Regions from separate parts of the Homo sapiens genome. Here all the other regions are linked to region 5. Evidence: promoter capture Hi-C in 16 types of primary human blood cells and fetal thymus (Javierre and others, 2016). All regions are on one chromosome and are shown on one strand. The core of a region is centred on a gene start or on the middle of the fragment in contact, and the rest is flanking DNA. Distances in the headings are between cores, read along the strand shown.

The links. Contacts are between HindIII fragments. The CHiCAGO score rates a contact against its expected background, and 5 or more counts as called.
Region 1: a contact is called between a fragment that was not itself captured here and the fragment with the promoter of LSM8 in region 5, in 4 of 17 cell types (non-activated CD4 T cells, total CD8 T cells, activated CD4 T cells and 1 more). The highest score is 6.0, in non-activated CD4 T cells.
Region 2: a fragment that was not itself captured here is called in contact with the fragment with the promoter of LSM8 in region 5 in 5 of 17 cell types (naive CD4 T cells, naive CD8 T cells, total CD8 T cells and 2 more); the score reaches 9.7 in naive CD4 T cells.
Region 3: a contact is called between a fragment that was not itself captured here and the fragment with the promoter of LSM8 in region 5, in 2 of 17 cell types (naive CD4 T cells and activated CD4 T cells). The highest score is 8.0, in naive CD4 T cells.
Region 4: a fragment that was not itself captured here is called in contact with the fragment with the promoter of LSM8 in region 5 in 2 of 17 cell types (activated CD4 T cells and total B cells); the score reaches 5.6 in activated CD4 T cells.
Region 6: a fragment that was not itself captured here is called in contact with the fragment with the promoter of LSM8 in region 5 in 2 of 17 cell types (total B cells and total CD4 T cells); the score reaches 9.8 in total B cells.
Region 7: a contact is called between a fragment that was not itself captured here and the fragment with the promoter of LSM8 in region 5, in 1 of 17 cell types (total CD8 T cells). The highest score is 6.1, in total CD8 T cells.

The regions. Positions count from the first base shown.
Region 1 is chr7:117,007,166-117,009,865 of GRCh38, forward strand. The region is part of intron 1 of ST7 (suppression of tumorigenicity 7); the gene reads left to right. Among named protein-coding and RNA genes, the nearest start is that of MIR6132, 12 kb to the right of the region's middle. The HindIII fragment of the contact is 1,723 bases long and covers 525-2,247 here.
Region 2 is chr7:116,855,492-116,858,191 of GRCh38, forward strand. No RefSeq gene overlaps it. Among named protein-coding and RNA genes, the nearest start is that of CAPZA2, 5.7 kb to the right of the region's middle. RefSeq lists an enhancer at 1,400-2,057. The HindIII fragment of the contact is 365 bases long and covers 1,223-1,587 here.
Region 3 is chr7:116,945,267-116,947,966 of GRCh38, forward strand. LOC105375465 (a long non-coding RNA gene) reads left to right here. Exons shown (of 3, transcript XR_927895.3): 2 at 197-255; 3 at 2,376-2,651. Among named protein-coding and RNA genes, the nearest start is that of ST7, 6.9 kb to the right of the region's middle. The HindIII fragment of the contact is 1,938 bases long and covers 398-2,335 here.
Region 4 is chr7:116,925,895-116,928,594 of GRCh38, forward strand. No RefSeq gene overlaps it. Among named protein-coding and RNA genes, the nearest start is that of ST7, 26 kb to the right of the region's middle. The HindIII fragment of the contact is 2,714 bases long and covers 1-2,652 here.
Region 5 is chr7:118,182,732-118,185,431 of GRCh38, forward strand. LSM8 (LSM8 homolog, U6 small nuclear RNA associated) reads left to right here and starts at 1,433. Exons shown (of 4, transcript NM_016200.5): 1 at 1,433-1,523. The coding sequence starts at 1,493. LOC105375470 (a long non-coding RNA gene) reads right to left here and starts at 1,237. Exons shown (of 4, transcript XR_927904.3): 1 at 1,184-1,237. The HindIII fragment of the contact is 4,305 bases long and covers 1-2,509 here.
Region 6 is chr7:116,966,987-116,969,686 of GRCh38, forward strand. The region is part of intron 1 of ST7 (suppression of tumorigenicity 7); the gene reads left to right. Among named protein-coding and RNA genes, the nearest start is that of ST7-AS1, 14 kb to the left of the region's middle. RefSeq lists an enhancer at 2,384-2,700. The HindIII fragment of the contact is 753 bases long and covers 1,022-1,774 here.
Region 7 is chr7:116,990,239-116,992,938 of GRCh38, forward strand. The region is part of intron 1 of ST7 (suppression of tumorigenicity 7); the gene reads left to right. Among named protein-coding and RNA genes, the nearest start is that of MIR6132, 29 kb to the right of the region's middle. The HindIII fragment of the contact is 1,498 bases long and covers 679-2,176 here.

The DNA of each region.
Region 1 (2,700 bases), core at 136-2,635, 1.2 Mb before region 5:
GAAGCTAGGCCTCTTGTGCCAGTTAGCCAAGATATGGATGCGAGGGAAAAATTCTTGAAGGAAATGTAAAGTGCTACTCCAATGAACACACAAATGTAACAGAATGAAACAGCTTTATTGCTTATATGGAGAAAGTTAGAGTGGTCTGATAGAAAATCAAACCAGCCATAACATTCCCTTAAGCCGAAGTCTAATTTAGAGCAAGGAACTCTCTTTAATTTCTTCAGGGGTTCTATGAAGGCTGAGAGAGGTGAGGAAGCTGCAGAGGAACGCTTTGAAGCTAGCAGAGGTTGGTTTATTTGGTTTAGTGAAAGAAGCCATCTGCATAACATAAAAGTGCAAGGTAAAGTACAAGTGTTAATGTAGAAGCTGCAGCAAATTATCAAGAAGGTCTAGCTGAGATACCTGATGAAGGTGGCTACACTCAACAACAGATTTTCAGTGTAGGTGAAAACAGTGTTATATTGGAGGAAGATGCCATCTAGGCCTTTCATAGCTGGAGAGAAGTCAATGCCTGGCTTCAAAGCTTCACAGGACAGGCTGACTGTCTTCTTAGGAGCTCATGCTCACATTGCCATGCAACCAGTCTTCAGAATTCTTTTCATTTTACGAAACTGAAGTTCTGTACCCATTAAACAACTCCCCATTTTCTTCTTCCTCCTGCCTCTGGCAATCACCATTCTACTTTCTGTCTCTATGAATTTGAAGTCTATAGTTGCACAGGCACAAATGTCTGTCTCTAGAAACATTTTCCAAGTAATACACTTCACTACATTTTCTCTTAGAATCACCTATATCTGTGTTAAAACTGTAAGAATCTGTGTTAAAATTTTAAGAATGTAGCAGTTGTCTTGATTAGAAATATATTTTCAATAGCCTTTCAAAAAACCAGAGACAAAAAAGCAGAGAGGAAATTATCTGCTTCTTATCTGAAGGCTAATGACAAAAAAAGTCATCCATGTGAACTTTAATAGAAATCTGCCGAAACCCTTAATGAGGTAGGTATCATGATCAGCGTAACTCATTACAGAATTGTTGTATTTTAGAGCTAGAAAAAAACCTCAGAAATAATTTTAAGTTCTTCATTTCATAAATGAAGTGATACTGTTGTGAAATGTCTAACCAAATTAATTAACTGTGCAGTTAGGATTGTAGTCTGTTTCTTGTTTCTCAAGAATTCCCTTTCAGCAATTGTTGGTGAACAGGGTCAGATTTTCTCAGACAAACTAGCTATTACTTGTGTTCTACACTATGAGTATGTTTTATAGAAAGTTTTCCTGGCTTATAATATAATTGAAGAGACTTGGAAATCTTAGCCCATGATTTCCATTTTTATATAATCTTCAAGGGCTAGAGATGTATGTGGATTGGAGGTATGTGGTTTTCCTTATCTGGGAAAGTAGTTGACAATTTCTCAGAAATTGAGCATTTATCACCAGTTCTAATGTGATAGGGAATGAGGTATTGTTCATAGTATCATCAGAAATGAAGGGAATTGGGATGAAACTTTTCTTGAATTTCTGACCCTGATGCAATCAGGCAGTTGTTGATGGATTCCATTATCTTCGTGAGTCTTGTCAATGGCAGAGACCTAATTGAAGATTAGAGCTCTTGCAGAGAAAGGTCAAATCAACCACAGTAAATATTGTTGAACAGGGTTTGGCAAACTGTAGCCCATGGGCTGCCTGTTTCTGTGAGATTTATAAGCTAACTTTTTTTTTAACATTTTTAAATCGCTGAAAAATTTTCAAAAGAATACGTCATGATATGTGAACATTACAAGAAATTTAATTTCAAAGTTTATAAATAAAGTTTTATTGGAACATGGCTACATTAATTTATGTATTGTTTATGACTATTTTTGCACTGAAACAATAGAGTAGTTGTGACAGAGAACAGATGGTCCCACAAAATCTAAACTGTTTACTATTTGGCCCTTTATAAAAAGGATTTGCCAGCTCCTGCTAGAAAACATTGAGAATGATTTGTTTTGTAGTACCATGGAAATTTGTGATCTTCTTTGCTTACCTAGAACTGCAGCTGTATGCTACAGCTAAGAAATTCCTTAAAGAACTTCTCCACTTTTTTTTTGTTTTTTTTTTTTTGTTTTTGGCCTCTGGGACAACCCACACTAGTCCATTCATGACTATTTTTTATGACTTTCTTTGCTTATTTTCCAGTGGTTCCTTTTGCCAATCATGTGAACAGACCAAAACCACACAGGAAGGTCTGTGGTTTGCCTAAAGAAGCTTTTCTACAGAGGGATATGTCTGGCTTGGGTACCTCCCTGTTTGTTGTACAAACCTATAGTTTGATTCTGATCATTACACTAGAGCTTTGATTCAAATGTATATAAAATGACCATCACTGTCAGGATGTAAAATGAATAAGCATATTTATTGTTGGATTCATATTTGTAGGACGAAAATCTTAATCTTTCTTATTTTTATCAGGCATTTTAGTAACTTTAGTAATGTTTCTCATGACTGCTAATTATACATCAAGATTAATTGCTATATTTTTTTTTAATTGGCTAACCTTAAACACATAAACCCAATGTCCTTTTTTATAGTCATCTTCTGATAGAGTTAAAACATCAGTGATAGGGAGACCACACAGCACCTCTTATAAAAGTTATTTACCTCCTTTTTCCAGCTGTGGTTACTTGATTTTAGTTCTCTTGAGGCCACTGTAAGAAGG
Region 2 (2,700 bases), core at 155-2,654, 1.3 Mb before region 5:
AAACCACAAACTTCATTTTCTGCTACACTGCTATCTGCTATTACTGAGTCCAAATAAAAGTTAAAAGTACTGTCAGACATTAAAGGTAAAAAAAGTAAAGATACTGGATCTGTCTTTTCACTCCCTACCAGCAAATCTATGCATTGTGTTGCTTCATCTTTCCAGGTCAAGAGTCTGACTTATCTTTTCATTTATGCCCCACAATTTACACTGCCATATAGGGAGATTTTTAAAAAGACAGTAATTAGTCTAAAGATCTCTATCCATGTTGTTTACAAAAATATGCAAAAAAATTCCTTTCTTTCTTTCTTTCTTTCTTTCTTTCTTTCTTTCTTTCTTTCTTTCTTTCCTTCTTTCTTCCTTCCTTTCTCTCTCTCTCTTTCTTTCTTTCTTTTTTTGAGACAGAGTTTTGCCCTCGTTGCCCAGGCTGGAGTGCAATGGCACGATCTCGGCTCATAGCAACCTCTGCCTCCCGGGTTCAGGCAATTCTCCTGCCTCAGCCTCCTGAGTAGCTGGGATTACGGGCATGTGCCACCACACCCAGATGATTTTGTACTTTTAATAGAGGCGGGTTTTCTCCATGTTGGTCAGGCTGGTCTCGAACTCCCGACCTCAGGTGATCCGACCGCCTCAGTATCCCAAAGTGCTGGGATTACAAGCGTGAGCTACCATGCCCAGCCTCATAAATATTTTTAAAGTTAGGTACCACATTAGGCAGATAAAAAGGAGTGTTCCTGTGTTGAAAAAGAAGCAACATACGTGGAAATGATAAACATGAGATTCAGGTTGGTGGTTACCTGAAGGAAGAAGAAAAGGGAATGGGAACTGGAAGAATTAAACCATGCTTTTTTGTATGCCTGAAATGTTGTGTAACAATAATTCAAATAAGTAAATGAAAATAGAGGCCAGGCATGGGGGTTCCTGCCTGTAATCCCAGCACTTTGGGAGGCTGAGGCAGGAAAGATCACTTGAGTTCAGGAATTCAAGACTAGCCTAGGCAACATAGCAAAACCCCCTGTCTACGAAAAATTTTAAAAACTTGCCAGGTGTGGTGTTGCACGCCTGTAGTCCCAACTAGTCAGGTGGCTGAGGTGGGAGGATCACTTGAGCCCAGGAGATGGAGGCTACAGTGAGCTATGATCACGCTGCTGCACTCCAGCTTGGGTGACAGAGCAAGTCTTGTCTCCAAAAAAAAAAAAAAAAAAAAGCAGAAGAAAATACAAGCTTTAGTATTTCCTTGCTTCACCCTAAAGGATCATTTTGAATACTCCCTGTCCCCTGTACTTTGTTTGGGACATGGTATGAAGATACTAAAGGCTTGAACTTATAGTGACAGGAGAATTAAAGAGTAAGAAATCAACTAGGGAGATATTTAAGTGGTGACTGAATATGGAGTAGTAAAGACTTGGAGATATTGGTATGATTTTGAGGTTTTTGGGAAAAAATTGTTCACTTTCCCATTCTGGAGTCCCCAGTCCACATTTTAGAACAATCTCTAAATCCCGTATGTGTTGCTAAATCAACTTTTCAGCTCTCATTTAGGGATGCGAAATAAAAGTGTCGTTTAATCAATATGCATTCCAACAAAGCTTTTTTAAGCATTTATTTGCCAGACATTGTATGTGCCAGACATGTCCTTAAAGACCAAATTGGTATTATAATATGATGATAATAGCTAATATTTATTGAGACTTTTACTAAGGCCTGCACTGTGTGCTAAGCACTTTGCCTGCATTGTCTTGTTAAATCCTCACAGCAGCCCTACAAAGGTGGTACTATTGTTATCCCTAATGTATAGATGAAGAAATGCAAGCCTGCAGAGTAAGTTCCTTAAGGTTAACTAGAGCTAGAACGAAGATCAGAATCCAGGATTTAGTGATGATAAAATCTGTATACCTCATCACTGGTATATACAACAAAAATCAATGGAAAAGTTTCTATGGTAATCTAGAAGAAATTATTAGCTTAGCTAGAGGATTCAATGAGAGTTTCAAAGAAAACCGATAACAGAATTTTAAAGGATAGGTAGCAAACAACATTCCAGAAAGCTTTGACAGAAGCCTGAGAGCATATGATATATATGCAGCTTTGTGTGTTTCAATGACATATGCATTCAGGGGCAGTGGCAGAGGTGGGTCTGGTGAGGTTGGTAGGAAGGAAATTAGGAAGGATAGCACGTTCGGGACGGAGGAGGGGTTGAAAAAGAAGTGTTGGCTGGGCGTGGTGGCTCACGCCTGTAATCCCAGCACTTTGGGAGGCTGAGGCTGGTGAATCATGAGGTCAGGAGATCGAGACCATCCTGGCCAACATGGTGAAACCCCGTCTCTACTAAAAATACAAAAATTAGCCGGGTGTGGTGGCACACACCTATAATCCCAGCTACTCAGGAGGCTGAGGCAGAAGAATCACTTGAACCTGGGAGGCAGAGATTGTAGTGAGCAGAGATGGCAGCCCGGCACTCCAGCCTGGCAAGAGAGCAAGGCAAGACTCCATCTCAAAAACAAAAAAAAAGAAAAAAAGAAAAAGAAAAAGAAGAAGAAGGTCTTCAATAATTCCTGAGTAACTCTAGAATGATCTACGTCAGGCTTCTCCAGGGGCACTACTTGTGTGTACCTTTTCAAAACTAGCTGAGGAAATGGACCGCAGGTATACACTCAACTATAAATAACTTAAGCAATTATTTGTTTAGAAAGATAATTA
Region 3 (2,700 bases), core at 117-2,616, 1.2 Mb before region 5:
TGACATTGCAATGTAGAATAAAACAGAAACCTGGAGTGATTTTTGCAATGCAAAGTAAAGAAGAGAGGCTACAATTAATATTAAAAATACAATTAATTTAGGTTGCTGTGGGCAATCACTTTACTTAATATTAGCCTGAAATGTACTTTAAGATAAAAATAATCTGGCTCTTCTTTCTTTCCTTTTTTTGGATTAGGTTTCCGCAGAGGCCAAATATACCAGATGACTGTGAAATTTTCACTTTAATTTGCATGCGTAAGTATAGTCTTGGATATTAGAAATGAGAAAAAATGAAATGTAACTGATCAAGTGTAAGGGAATACATCCTGATTAAGAGAATAGAATCAATTTTCGGAAATCTAGGAGTAAATGCTCTGTGTCAATAGAAACAAATTTAAGCTTACATCATGGCCAGCAGATTTTAAAAATTTCTACTGATAATTCTATAACATAAGTTTAACCTGCTTTCTGACTTTTTTAATGCAAAAGGTTGTTTAATTGACTTGTCTAAATCTGTCAGGTATTTTGGAGGTTCATATGCATGAACTTGACATTAAAAGCCAAAACCAGACAACAGCATGCTATGCACATGGGAAGTAAATAGATAGCATATGATTTTTGTATTTGGCTTCGAATCATTTAAAGTGATGGTTATCACTAGTGCCAGGTATTTTTGATATCATGTAATTTTTCGAAGTGATATCTAGATGTGGCTCTGGTTCCTGAAATCTTAGCCAGTTATGGACCAAAAAATGCAGTTTTAAAATAAAGTAATAAAATTAGCATAGTTTTTTTTTTTTTTTTGGACAGAGTTTCACTTTGTCCCCCAGGCTGAAGTGAGTGCAGTAGCGCAATCTCGGCTCACTGCAAGCTCTGCCTCCCGGGTTCACGCCATTCTCCTGCCTCAGCCTCCCGAGTAGCTGGGATTACAGGCGTCCACCACCACGCCTGGCTAATTTTTTGTATTTTTAGTAGAGACGGGGTTTCACCATGTTAGCCAGGTTGGTCTCGATCTCCTGACCTCGTGATCCGCCCACCTCGGCCTCTCAAAGTGTTGGGATTACAGGCGTGAGCCACCACGCCCGGCCAATATTTTACATATGCAGAATATTTTAGACAAAGGATTTTTATTTTGATTAAAAGTGCTATACAAATAAAAAATAAAAATAAAACCTCTTGGGTTTGAGTGTCAAGAAATTAAAAAATGTATACCATTACATTTCCACACTATTTAAAGTGCAACTGACAAACTGCCCCATCTTAGAGTATTTTCCCAAGAGTAAAGAGGGTGAGTACCAGAGTAAAGAATAAATAGAGTAATTAAAGAAAGTGGGTAATATTGTTACCTTTCATGATTAGTTAGCCTAAGAAGCAAGAGAGCTGGCCGAACTTTAGAGGGTTCCTTAAAATAAATTTCTGGTCTTTTTGTTGAACACATCTGATCTATCTGTTGTCTCTAAGATTTTTTTTTTAATCTCATCCATCTTCCTCTGGTCTTGTCTCCTGATATTTTAGCAGTGTAAGGGAGAGGCTATGTTCACTTCTCTACTTCTTTCCAAAGAAATTTTCTTTTTTCTTTTTCTTTGAAAATAAGAAAACATCTTTCATTGGCTGGGGCAGGGTTTTAGGGTGGAGAAAGCATTAGGTTGCTTTCAGATTTTTTATACAAGGCTCCGATTGTTTTATTTTTTATATTATTATTATTATTATTATTTTGGAGACAGAGTCTCACTCTGTTGCCCAGGCTGGAGTGCAGTGGCATGATCTTGGCTCACTGCAACCTCCGCCTCCCAGATTCAAGTGATTCTCCTGCCTCAGCCTCCGGAGTTTCTGGGCTTACAGGCATGTGCCATCACGCCTGTCTAATTTTTGTGTTTTTAGTAGAGACAGGGTTTCACCATGTTGGCCAGGCTGGTCTCCTATTCCTGACCTCAGGTGATCCATCCGCCTCAGCCTCCCAAAGTGCTGGGATTACAGGAGTGAGCCACCACGCCCCACCTGATTATTTTATTTTGTATTCTTGCTTTTAGAATTATTCCGTATATCAACACAGCTGGTCTTATTACAATAATTTTGATATTTTAAACAAATCAGTGATGCTAAGGAACGTCACTGAGTGTTGACATGTCTGTGAAAGCCTTTATATGGAAACTAAGATATCTTTGTTAGGAATGGGGAAACAAAGGTAAATGTGATAATAATGTATCATAATGTCTCAACTTAGTCATTGTGAATCTCTCACTGTCAGATTAAGATGTACATGCAGTGTATGTTAATTACGGAAATGCATTCTGCCTTATACATGCAGAATTATATCTTAGAGAACTTCTCCCCAAGCTTTTTGCTAACCAAATCATCTTTTCAACTATATACAGGTCTTTGAAAGTCCATCTCTTCAATATTTTATGACAGAGTGTGTTGACTTGAAGAAGTTAGAAATGGCAAATTCCCTTCCAAACCTGTTTTTCTGCTCTTACTATATCTCTAAACTAAACATGTTGGATTTGCACTTATTCGGGTCTAGGTAAGTCACTAAATAAGGATAATCAGTTATGTAGGATGTTATTCATGAGTATAGAATATTGACCAATTCAAAAACCCAACCAGTGAACATGGATGAGATTTTTTAAATAAAAACCAACAAGTCAGAACAGTTATTTCTTGTGTTTAAATTTCAGATGAACTCTGAAAATTGTTTAC
Region 4 (2,700 bases), core at 46-2,545, 1.3 Mb before region 5:
TAAAATTCCTTAATACATTAATAAAGAATACTACATTATGATCAAGTATGGTTTATCACTGGAAACCAATGATTGTTCCCTGTTAGGAAATCTAGTACAGTAGCCTCCTATATTAGCATATTAAAGAAAAGCACATATAATTCTCTGAGAAAATATCATTAAACCATTTGATAAAGTTTAGTCCCTAATCCTCACTTTAAGGGCAGCATCTCAAATCAATGGGGCAACAGATGAATGATGCTGAGACAACAGGGTAGCCAGCTGTGGGAGAAAAGTTGGATCTATACCTCATACCTTACACCAAGTTAAAATTGCACCAAAGATTTAATGATATAAAATGATATTGGCCACGTGCGGTGGCTCACACCTGTAATCCCAGCACTTTGGGAGGCCGAGGCAGGCGGATCACTTGAGGTCAGGAGTTGGAAACCACCCTGTCCAACATGGTGAAACCCCGTCTCTACTAAAAGTACAAAAATTAGCCGGGTGTGGTGATGGGTTCCTGTAATCCCAGCTACGGAGGTTGCAGTGAGCTGAGATTGCGCCACTGCACTCTAGCCTGGGTGACAGAGCGAGATTCCATCTCAAAAAAAAAAAAAAAAAGATATCATAAATGTTCTTGAAGAAATGGTATTTTTTAAGTAATAGCAATATCAGAATAATTTTAGAAAAAACCCTTAGAATCCATTCAATAAAAATAAAAATGTATTTGGCTGGGTGCAGTGTCTCATGCCTGTAATCCCAGCACTTTGGGAAGCCAAGGTGGGCAGATCACTTGAGTTCAGGAGTCCGAGACCAGCCTGGCCAACATGGTGAAACCCCGTCTCTACTAAAAAATACCAAAATTATCCAGGCATGGTGGTGGGTGCCTGTAATCCGAGCTACTTGGGAGACTGAGGCAGAAGAATCGTGTGAACTCGGGAGGCGGAGGTTGCAGTGAGCCAAGATCGTGCCACTGCATTCCAGCGTGGACAACAGAGTGAGACTCCATCTCAAGAAAAAAAAATATATATATACTTCATAAAAATTAAGATTTTCTACATGGCTTAAAATGCTCTAAACAAAGTCAGAAGACATCATTCACAAGGGAAAACATTTGCAACTTACCTAACAGGTGGTTACTTTTTCAAAAATCTAATGAGTACCTACAGCACAATAACATAAGAGTCCTATAGAAAATTGAAAAGCATGGGCCAGGCGTGGTAGCTTACACCTCTAATCCCAGCACTTTGGGAGACTGAGGTGGGAGGATCACTTGAGCCCAGGAGTTCACAGTCAGCCTGGGCAACACTGTGAAACTCTCTTGTGTCTATAAAAAAAAAAAAAAAAAAAAAAGAAAGAAAGAAAATTGAAAAGCAGTGCCTATGGCACCTGAGCTCCTGACATTATGGAGAGCCTTACCAAACTTGAACTTCCTCACTGGACATTTATTGAGAAATAAACATATTTAAGCCACTGCTCTTTGGAATGTATTTTATTTCTTATCACCCCTGCCACCCCTGCAACCCCTGCCTCTCACCCTATATAGCATTTAGTGCCAGAAATAGGATCCTGCAAGTATCAAAATCTGAAGTGTGGCATTGGTTAAAGGCAATGTAAGTCAACAGGGGTTCTGCTGACATCTGAGTCCACTACAACGTGCAAGACTGTTCTCCTCTATCCCTAGACACTAAATGCTACTGACACCTCCTAATCCTTGTAACAGTCAAAAATAATGCCCTAGAGGAAGGGAATATTACTCCAGTGACTAGGGGGATTTAGTAGGGCCTAGATATTGCAGGCTGGAAAGCTGGTGACCCTTGTTAGGCCATGATAAAACATTGAAATTATTGCCTCAAGTAAGTAGATTGACATGACAATAGGAAAGATGGCAGGGAAGACTCAGAATGGAAGAAAGGAATTAGCAGCCATACTGAACTCCTCCTCTCTTGTCTGGGTTATTTGAGGAGACATTTGAGCCCAGCAGAACTTCTTACAACTTCAAATTTTGCAAGGATTGCCCTGCTGGGTGCAGTGGCTCACACCTGTAATCCCAGCACTTTGGGAGGCCGAGGCAGGCAGATTACTTGAGGTCAGGAGTTTAAGACCAGCCTGACAAACATGGCAAAATTCCATCTCTACTAAAAATACAAAAAAATTAGCCAGGCGTGGTGGCGTGCACCTGTAATCCCATCTACTCAGGAGGCTGAGGCAGGAGAATCACTTGAACTGGGAGGTGGAGATTAAATGAGCAGAGTTAGCTACACTCCAGCCTGGGCAACAGAGCGAGACTCCATCTCAAAAAAATAAAAAAATAAAAATGTTTCCAAGTCCACTGAACTGGACTGTCAAGATCCTTCTTTCTCTCACTTGTAATTTGTGGACTGTAGGTCCAAAGTGATAACATTACCCAGGAGAAGGTTAAAGGTAGAGATGAGAATAAGTGTATTGCCCTTCCCCCAAGCCCACTGTCATAGAAAATATATTCATTTTCTATTGCTGTATAACAAGTGGTCACAAAGTTAGGTCTTAAAATAATGCAACCTTATTATCTCACAGTTCTCATGGGTTCAGGCACATGTCAGCTGTGTCCTCTGTTCATGGTTCCGCGAGGCTGAAATCAAGGTGATGTCTGAGGCTGCAATCTCATCTGAGGCTTGGATTCCTCTTCCAAGCTTATGTGGTTGTTGGCAGTTCCTTGTGAATTGAATTTTGGAATAG
Region 5 (2,700 bases), core at 183-2,682:
GGGGTTACAGGAACCCACCAACATGCCCAGCAATTTCTTTTTTTAACAAAACTCCTAACACCTCGTTAATCATTAATTAGTCTTTGGGTTTTGGTTCAACACCTAACATTTGCAAATCACACAATTATCTTTGTTCTTTCATTAGCGGAAGACACTTTCATTTGTTACCCTGAGAATATGAGACATTCACAATCTAATTCCTGACTACATTTGATTTCAAACAGATAGGAATAAGTTCCAGAATATAAAATATTAACTATTTGGGAGTATCTTGTGGGTATGCTCTAATTAAGAAATGCTTCCTTTTCCGAGGAAAACTGCTGACATTGCAAGAGTTATTACAAAGCCACAAATCTTAAGAAAATACATGTTTAACTGAAATTATAAAGATATTTTGCAAAAAAGGGAAATCGCTCCTGCTGGTGTTTTGTGTATAAATCTCTTTCTAACTTCAAGCTCTCTCAAGTTAGGGCAACAGTAAATGAAGTGGGAACAGTATCGCATTGGGAAATATCTGAAATGATACCTATGGGACTATCTAACGAAACTGAGGCCCAGAAGAATTGAAGTGACCTGTGCAATGACACCAATTTGTTAGCAGAGCCAAGATTAGAACCAAGTTTGGTGCCTTCCTGCATCCTTCCTGCATCGGTCCTTTCTCGGTGCTGCAGCAGCCTTTTACTTACTAATTTCACCCTGAAGAAAGGTAGACCATCCTGGCGTGGCAGAAGCGTGGACATTCGTTTTCTAAGGGATGGTCACACACCTTTGCCTATTTGCATTTAGTTTCTTTAAAAAGTAAAAACACCTCCATTTTGGAACACTTTTAGAGACAAAAGCAGAACATACGAAAGTGTATTTCACTGCTGAGTTCTTAAGAGGCGTACACCGTGTGGTTATAACGTGCGCAACTCTGTCCCGGGCAACTGAACTTATTTTTAGCGTTATTTTCGGCTTCTGCTGCAGAAAACTAGGGATTCAACTACCCGCACCTACGTTTCACACAACAGCACTCGTCTCTCTCCTTCACTCCTAATAAAAACACCTTACTTCGTTTATTCCTGCCTGCTCTACCTCGTCTCAACATTTTCTCTTGTTAACTTCCACCACACTGCCTTTTACTCGGATTGGAAACCCACTCTCCCCCAACTTCTGTCTCATACCCCCAACTTCTGTCTCATACCCCCAACTTCAGGAAGCGTCTTCCTTTTTTCCGCCTCTCGTTCGCTTTTGTCTTACGAGGCTTCCGGAACACGGCCCAGAATTACAGAGAAAACACACTGCGCACGCGCACTCTCTCGTCACCGCTGTGCGGCTTCTGTTTGGTTGGCCAGTTCGTCCCAATTTCCGACTCACAGGGCTGCGGAGCAGCAACTCTCACGATATTTGCTGCGACCCGCAGGCGCTATCCGCTGCCGGGTTCTGGCGCGCCCTTTCAGTTCTGCTTGCTGTCGGCACCGCTGCGTTACCCGGAACCGCCGGGCCGAACAGCATGACGTCCGCTTTGGAGAACTACATCAACCGTATCCTCAAGCTGGCCGCCGCGGGCGTGAGCCGGGGTCGCGGAGAGGCCGCGGTCGGGGATCGGTGGGAGGTTGGGAGGCCTGGCCTCGGCGGGATCCTGGGGGCGGGCGAGGAGATGAGGGCCCCGGAACGACCCAGAGTTCGCCGGCGGCGCCTCGAGCCTTCCCGCTGCTGCGGGCCCAGGGGTCCTTTCCATTTTGCCTGCAAAACCCAAATAAAAACCCAGTGTGATTATTCCGAACTTTTCTGTCTTAAAAAAAATGTACGCTCTTGATTCTTACTTACTATTTCCCTATGGCATAAGTGTTAAAGTTTGTGAATAAGATGAACAGTCGTCCTGGCGGCGACAACAGTTTTGCAAATCTTTGTACTTGTTTTATTCACATAATTTGCTCGTTCGAGGATAGCAAAAAGTTTAACGATGGTTCACAGACTGTTTCTGTCCCTTTACCACTTGAAGTCCCAACTTGTTGGTAGAATGAAAAAAAATGGTTGCTGTTGTAATGGATTATAGTGAGGAGCAAGTAACAACCCCATGGGAAGTCTTAAAATAGACTTTACAAGTGTTACCGTTTTAAAGTCTTAGGACAAAAACACTACGTTAAGCTCAGGTACAAACTGGGTGACAAAAATTAAATACCGAATGCTTTTAATGATGCGTTATTGGTACCCTGTGACACTGCTTATATAGTTTCTTTACTTTTGAATTACAGAAGCCTGTCCTGGAAGACAGTTTTTTAACATGCTGGAAAATCGTCCAACATCGATTAATTTAGTACTCATCCACTTTTCATTTTAGAAATAAACAGGCCTAAGAAACGAAATATCCTGCCTGAAATAATAGATTGGTAACCTTCCTAGTAGAAAAGTGTCAAAAATCCAGGATATTTTGAGATAAGATACACCGATCACATACAGAAAGAGGTTTTCTTTTTCTATTTTTTCCCTTTTTTAATCATGTAATTATCACAAAGACAAAAACAGAAGCTTTTTTTAAGTTTTTTTTTTTTTTTCTTTTTTTGAGTCGAGGGTCTCACTCTGTTGCCCAGGCTGGAGTGCAGTGGCTTGATCATGGCTCAATGCAACCTTGAACTCCTGAGCCCAAGCAATCCTCCTGCCTCTGCCTCTGCCTCCTGAGTAGCTGGGACTATAGGTCACCAGGCCAGGGTAATAGAG
Region 6 (2,700 bases), core at 148-2,647, 1.2 Mb before region 5:
AAAAAATTAATGTATCACTTGTTACTTTCAGAAATAAAATGGAGGTTAGGAAATCAAACCCCTTGATGTATGTGATAAAGTGTTACAAAATATCAAATGATTCACTTTGCTATTTGTGAGTTTCTATCACTCTTTTTTTTTTTTTTTGCCACTAATTGCAAAATAACTCATATAAACCTGGGTTTCTCAAGCAATGTTCTCCTAGATGTGTAGGACGAAGGCTATATTGGTATGAATAGGTAGTAATTCTGAGCCTGTTCTGGAAGACCCCATTCCCCTGCAGAGTTTGGTAGGGCTCACATACCCGCAGTGGTGGTGGCCATTAATGACCAATTCTGCCTTTGAGTGCTCCACTTGCGCTACTCTCACTTCTGGCTCCTGGTGCTTAGGACTGCTGTCCCCTCTCCCTGCCTTACCAGTTCCTATTGTGGACATTAAGGAGTGAATTTGGTCAGGCAGCTTGTGCAGGTCAGTGTCCCAGAGGCAGGTCTACAGCTCTAGCGGGTCCAGTCCCAGTGGACCTTTCTGCTAATTGTGTCCAGCCTTTCCATTCTTGAATTACTGACCTGCGATAAAAAATGATGGCGCCCTTACCACATTCTAGCAAAAAGGTCAACAGTCATTTACCAGTTCTGTGATCTTAACACTAGTTACCTTGTTTATAACTGAGCATGATAATGATGAGTACCTCATAGGACTGTTAGGAGGATTAAATGAGATACTATGAAAAAAGCCTTAACCAGTGCCAGCACTTGCTAGTGCTCAATACATTTTAGATATTTACTTGTAGTTACTGTTGTGGCTCCTACTATAATATTGACTTTGTTTTGTACTTCTTGGTGTCTAACTCAATCAGCTTTTTCTCTTAAGTCAGTTTCTAGACTGATAGTTCTTTTTAAATGCATCTGTTCTTCATTTTCATAGTTACATGTATGTCCTCTGTAGGTTTTCTGTTTCCATTCAGTTTTGGGGTGAAATATGATAGCAGCATGAGGAGCTCCACTCCTGGTCTAAATGAATAAGCTTATATTATCTCTTTCTTAACTTTGCTCCTTAACTCTTTGTATTCTGTTACCTGCTTTCATAATTTTCCTGGAACTTCTTAAACCTCATTGGTAATTTCAAAGCTAAATTTCATTAATCATTTCTCAGATTTTGTTCATACTGATTCGTTGCACTATAAAAAAGGATTTAAATTTTTTTTCTAATATTCACTTTTTTTGTTTTGTTTTACAAATTCTCCTCCCTATCCCCTCCCCTACTTCCCTCTCTCCCTCCCTCCCTCCCTCCCTCCCTCCCTCCCTCCCTCCTTCCTTCCTTCCTTCCTTCCTTCCTTCCTTCCTTTCCTCCCTCCCTCCCTCCCTCCCTCCTTCTTCCTTCTTCTTCCTTCTTTTTGCTTCTTCTTGAGACAGTGTCTTACTATGTTGACCGTGCTGGACTCGAATTCCTGGGCTCAAGCAATCCTTCTGCCTCAACCTTCTGATTATTTCGACTACGGGTGTGCGCCACCATGCCTGGCTTAGAAAAGGACTTTATGTTGAACCTCTTTTCTCTTACAATCAAATAATAAATTCATTGAGTCATACTATTAGCGAGTCGCAGTGCTTGGTGCGGGTGTAGAGGAATGGAATGATGACCAAGACATGGTCCCTGTCTTCAGTATCTTGAGATATTGAGCACTCAGGGAAAGAAAAATGGGCACAAAACTATAATGCAAAGTAAAATGTGTAGAGCACAAAGGAGAAATAAATACCAAAACAAGGGGATGAGAGAAAGCTTTCAAATCATAGTGGTAGTTACTGGAATAACTTTAGGAATTCCCAGGCTGCTTGGAGAATATGAGAATGTGCATCTGCTTGGTCCCTTCAGAAAACTGTCAGTGTGACAGATGGGAGGGTGAAAAAGAGGGAAAAGCTAGAATCTGTTGGGGTTAAATTGGAGTTCATTTTGAAGCATTAAAAATAATTGAAATTCTGATATATTTTACCTGTATAGAAAGGGACAGGAAATAATATGAGAAATAATAATAGTGGGGTGACCCATCATCCATATTTAACGTTTGTTAACATTTCGCCACAAGTGTTCATATTGCTTTCTCTCTCTTTTTCAAAAAAACTATTTTTTAGAACCCTTTTAGATGTGGCAGTTTTTCAGACTTTCCTTGTTTTTGATAACTTTACAATTTTGAGGAGTATCATATCTCCCTACAATCCTCTTGCATGTGGCAGTTTTTCAGACTTTCCTTGTTTTTGATAACTTTACAATTTTGAGGAGTATCATATCTCCCTAGAATCCTCTTGGATGTGGCAGTTTTTCAGACTTTCCTTGTTTTTGATAACCTTAACAATTTTGAGGAGTACCAGTCAAGAATTTTTTAGACTATCGCTTAATTGAGATTTGTTTGATATTCTTCTTATGATTTTCTGGGATTTTGAGTTTTTGGGAGGAAGACCACAGAGGTCAAGTGCCATTTTTGTCATGACATAATACCAACTTATCACTGTTGATATTGACCTTGATCCCCTGGCAGAGAGAGTGTTGATCAGGTTTCTTCACTGTAAAGTTACCCTTTACTTCCTCATACTGTGCTCTTGGGAAGGAGTTCGCTTTGCACAGGCTGCACTTAAGGAATGAAGCTTTGTTTCCTCTTGTGGAAATAAATGAGGACCATCTAAATGAGAACAAGTAAAGGCTATTTAT
Region 7 (2,700 bases), core at 178-2,677, 1.2 Mb before region 5:
GATTAACCTTTGATTTCTCTGTAGAGTGAGTGAGTAAGTGAATGAGTAAAAATGAGTAATTTCTCCTTCAGCTTTCCTCTTTATCCTGCTTGGACCGTTTTCTTTCTATTCTGGGTAAACTCATTCCTTTTACTTTTGACTAGCTCTGCTTGTGCCTAGGAATCAATCCCCTTCCTCTAAGGGGTTAGTGTTGTTTTGTTTTGTTCTGTTGTATGCACACAGGGGAAACAACATTTTAAAAAATGTTATAATGGTCCAGGTTGTTATAATTCCACTGAAAAAAATAAAAGATGGTAGAAGTTAGGTGGATTACTTTCTCTTTGTGATATAATTTGCAGTATACAAGCATAGGTTGAACTATCTATTCTGTGTACTTTCCTTTAGAAAGCTGCATACCCATACTCTTTTCAGGTTTCTAATTAAATGTCACCTTCTAAGTTCAGCTTTCCATGACCCTTTAAAATTGTAAATCCCCTTCCATACCCATCTATATACCTGGCACTGACTGTTCCTTTTTCTTGCTTTGTTACTATTTTTTAGTTGCACTTACCATTATCTGACACACCATATACTTTACTAATGTCTTTCCCTCCCCAAAATGAGAATGGAAAATTTAAAAAGTAGACTTTAAAATTAATGTAACATTCATACAGAAAAGAGCAGATATTCTAAGTTTAAAGCTTGGTGAATTTTCATTAAGTGACACATAGATTTGATTACCGTGTCCCAGATCAAGAAACAGAACATTACCAGTACTGAGAGGCCTTCCATATGCCCCTTCCTATCACTAACCCTGACCCAAATCCCTCCTCAAAGGTTTGTTCGTTCTCGTTGCATTGGTTTGCATAGTACTCCATTGTATGATCACATTTTATTTATCTATTATACTTTTGATGTATATTTGGGTGGTTTCCAGTTGGACCTATTATGAATAGTTAGTATTTTGTTTTGAAAAAGCCTGAAAGGTTCCTAGGCTACTACTTTTTCCACCCTGACACATGCCTCCTTTGAGGCATTAAGCAGGGCTCTCTGCTTGAATGTGGGGAGGCAGAAATGTTATTCAGCCATGTATTAGTCTGTTTTCATGCTACTGATAAAGATATGCCCAAGACTTGGAAGAAAAAGAGGTTTAATTGGACTTACAGTTCCTCATGGCAGGGGAGGCTTCAGAATCATGGGGGGAGGCAAAAGGCACTTCTTACATGGTGGCGGCAAGAGAAAATGAGGAAGATGCAAAAGCAGAAACCCCTCATAAAACCATCAGATCTTGTGAGACTTGTTCACTACCAAGAGAACAATATGGGTGAAACCGCCCCCATGATTCAAATTATCTCCTACTGACACCCTCCCACAACACGTGGGAATTAGAAGAGTACAATTCAAGATGAGATTTGGGTGGGGACACAGAGCCAAACCATATCATTTCACCTCTGGCCTCTCCAAATTTCATGTCCTCACATTTCAAAACCAATCATGCCTTCCCAACAGTCCCCCAAAGTCTTAACTCATTTCAGCATTAACCCAAAAGTCCACAGTCCAAAGTTACATCTGAGACAAGGCAAATCCCTTCTGCCTATGAGCCTGTAAAGTCAAAAGCAAGCTAATTACGTCCTAGTACAGATGTTGGGTAAATACAGCCATTCCAATGGGAGAAATTGGCCAAAACAAAGGGGTTACAGGGCCCAACCAAGTCTAAAATCTAGTGGGGCAGTCAAATTTTAAAGCTCCAAAATGATCTCCTTTGACTCCAGGTCTCACATCCCGGTCACACTGATGCAAGAGGTGGGTTCCCATGGCCTTGGGCAGCTCTGCCCCCATGGCTTTGCAAGGTACTGCCTCTCTCCCACTGCTTTCATGGGCTGGTGTTGAGTGTCTGTGGCTGTTCCAGGTTCATGATGCAAACTGTAGGTGGAGCTACTATTCTGGGGTCTGGAGAACAGTGGCCCTCTTTTCACAGCTCCACTAGGCAGAGCACCAGTAGGGACTCTATGTGAGGGCTCTGACCCTTCATTTCCCTTCTGCACTGCCCTAGCAGAGGTTCTCCATGAGAGCCCTATACCTGCAGTGAACTTCTGCCTGGGCATCCAGGCATCTCCATACGTCTTCTGAAATCTACGTGGTTTCCCAAACCCCAATTCTTGACTTCTGTGCATCTGCAGGTTCAACACCATGTGGAAGCTTCCAAGGCTTGGGCTTGCATCCTCTGAAGCCATGGCCTGAGCTTTATACTGGCCCCTTTCAGTCACGGCTGGAGCAGCTGGGATGCAGGGCACAAAGTCCCTAGACTGCACACAGCACGGGACCCTGGCCCCTGCCCATGAAACCATTTCTTCCTCCTAGACCTCCAGGTCTGTGATGAGAGAGGCTGCCGCAAAGGTCTCTGACATACCCTGGAGACATTTTCCCCATTGTCTTGGAGATGAACATTCGGCTCCTCATTACTTATGCAAATATCTGCAGTTGGCTTGAATTTCTCCTCAGAAAATGGGATTTTCTATTGGCATTGTCAGGTTGCAAATTTTCTGAAGTTTTATGCTCTGCTTCCCTTTTAAAATGGAATGCTTTTAACAGCACCCAAGTCACCCTTGAATGCTTTGCTGCTTAGAAGTTTCTTCTGCTGGATACCCTAAATTATCTCCCTTAAGTTCAAAGTTCCACAAATCTCTTAGGCAGGGGCAAAGTGCCGCCAGTCTCTTTGGT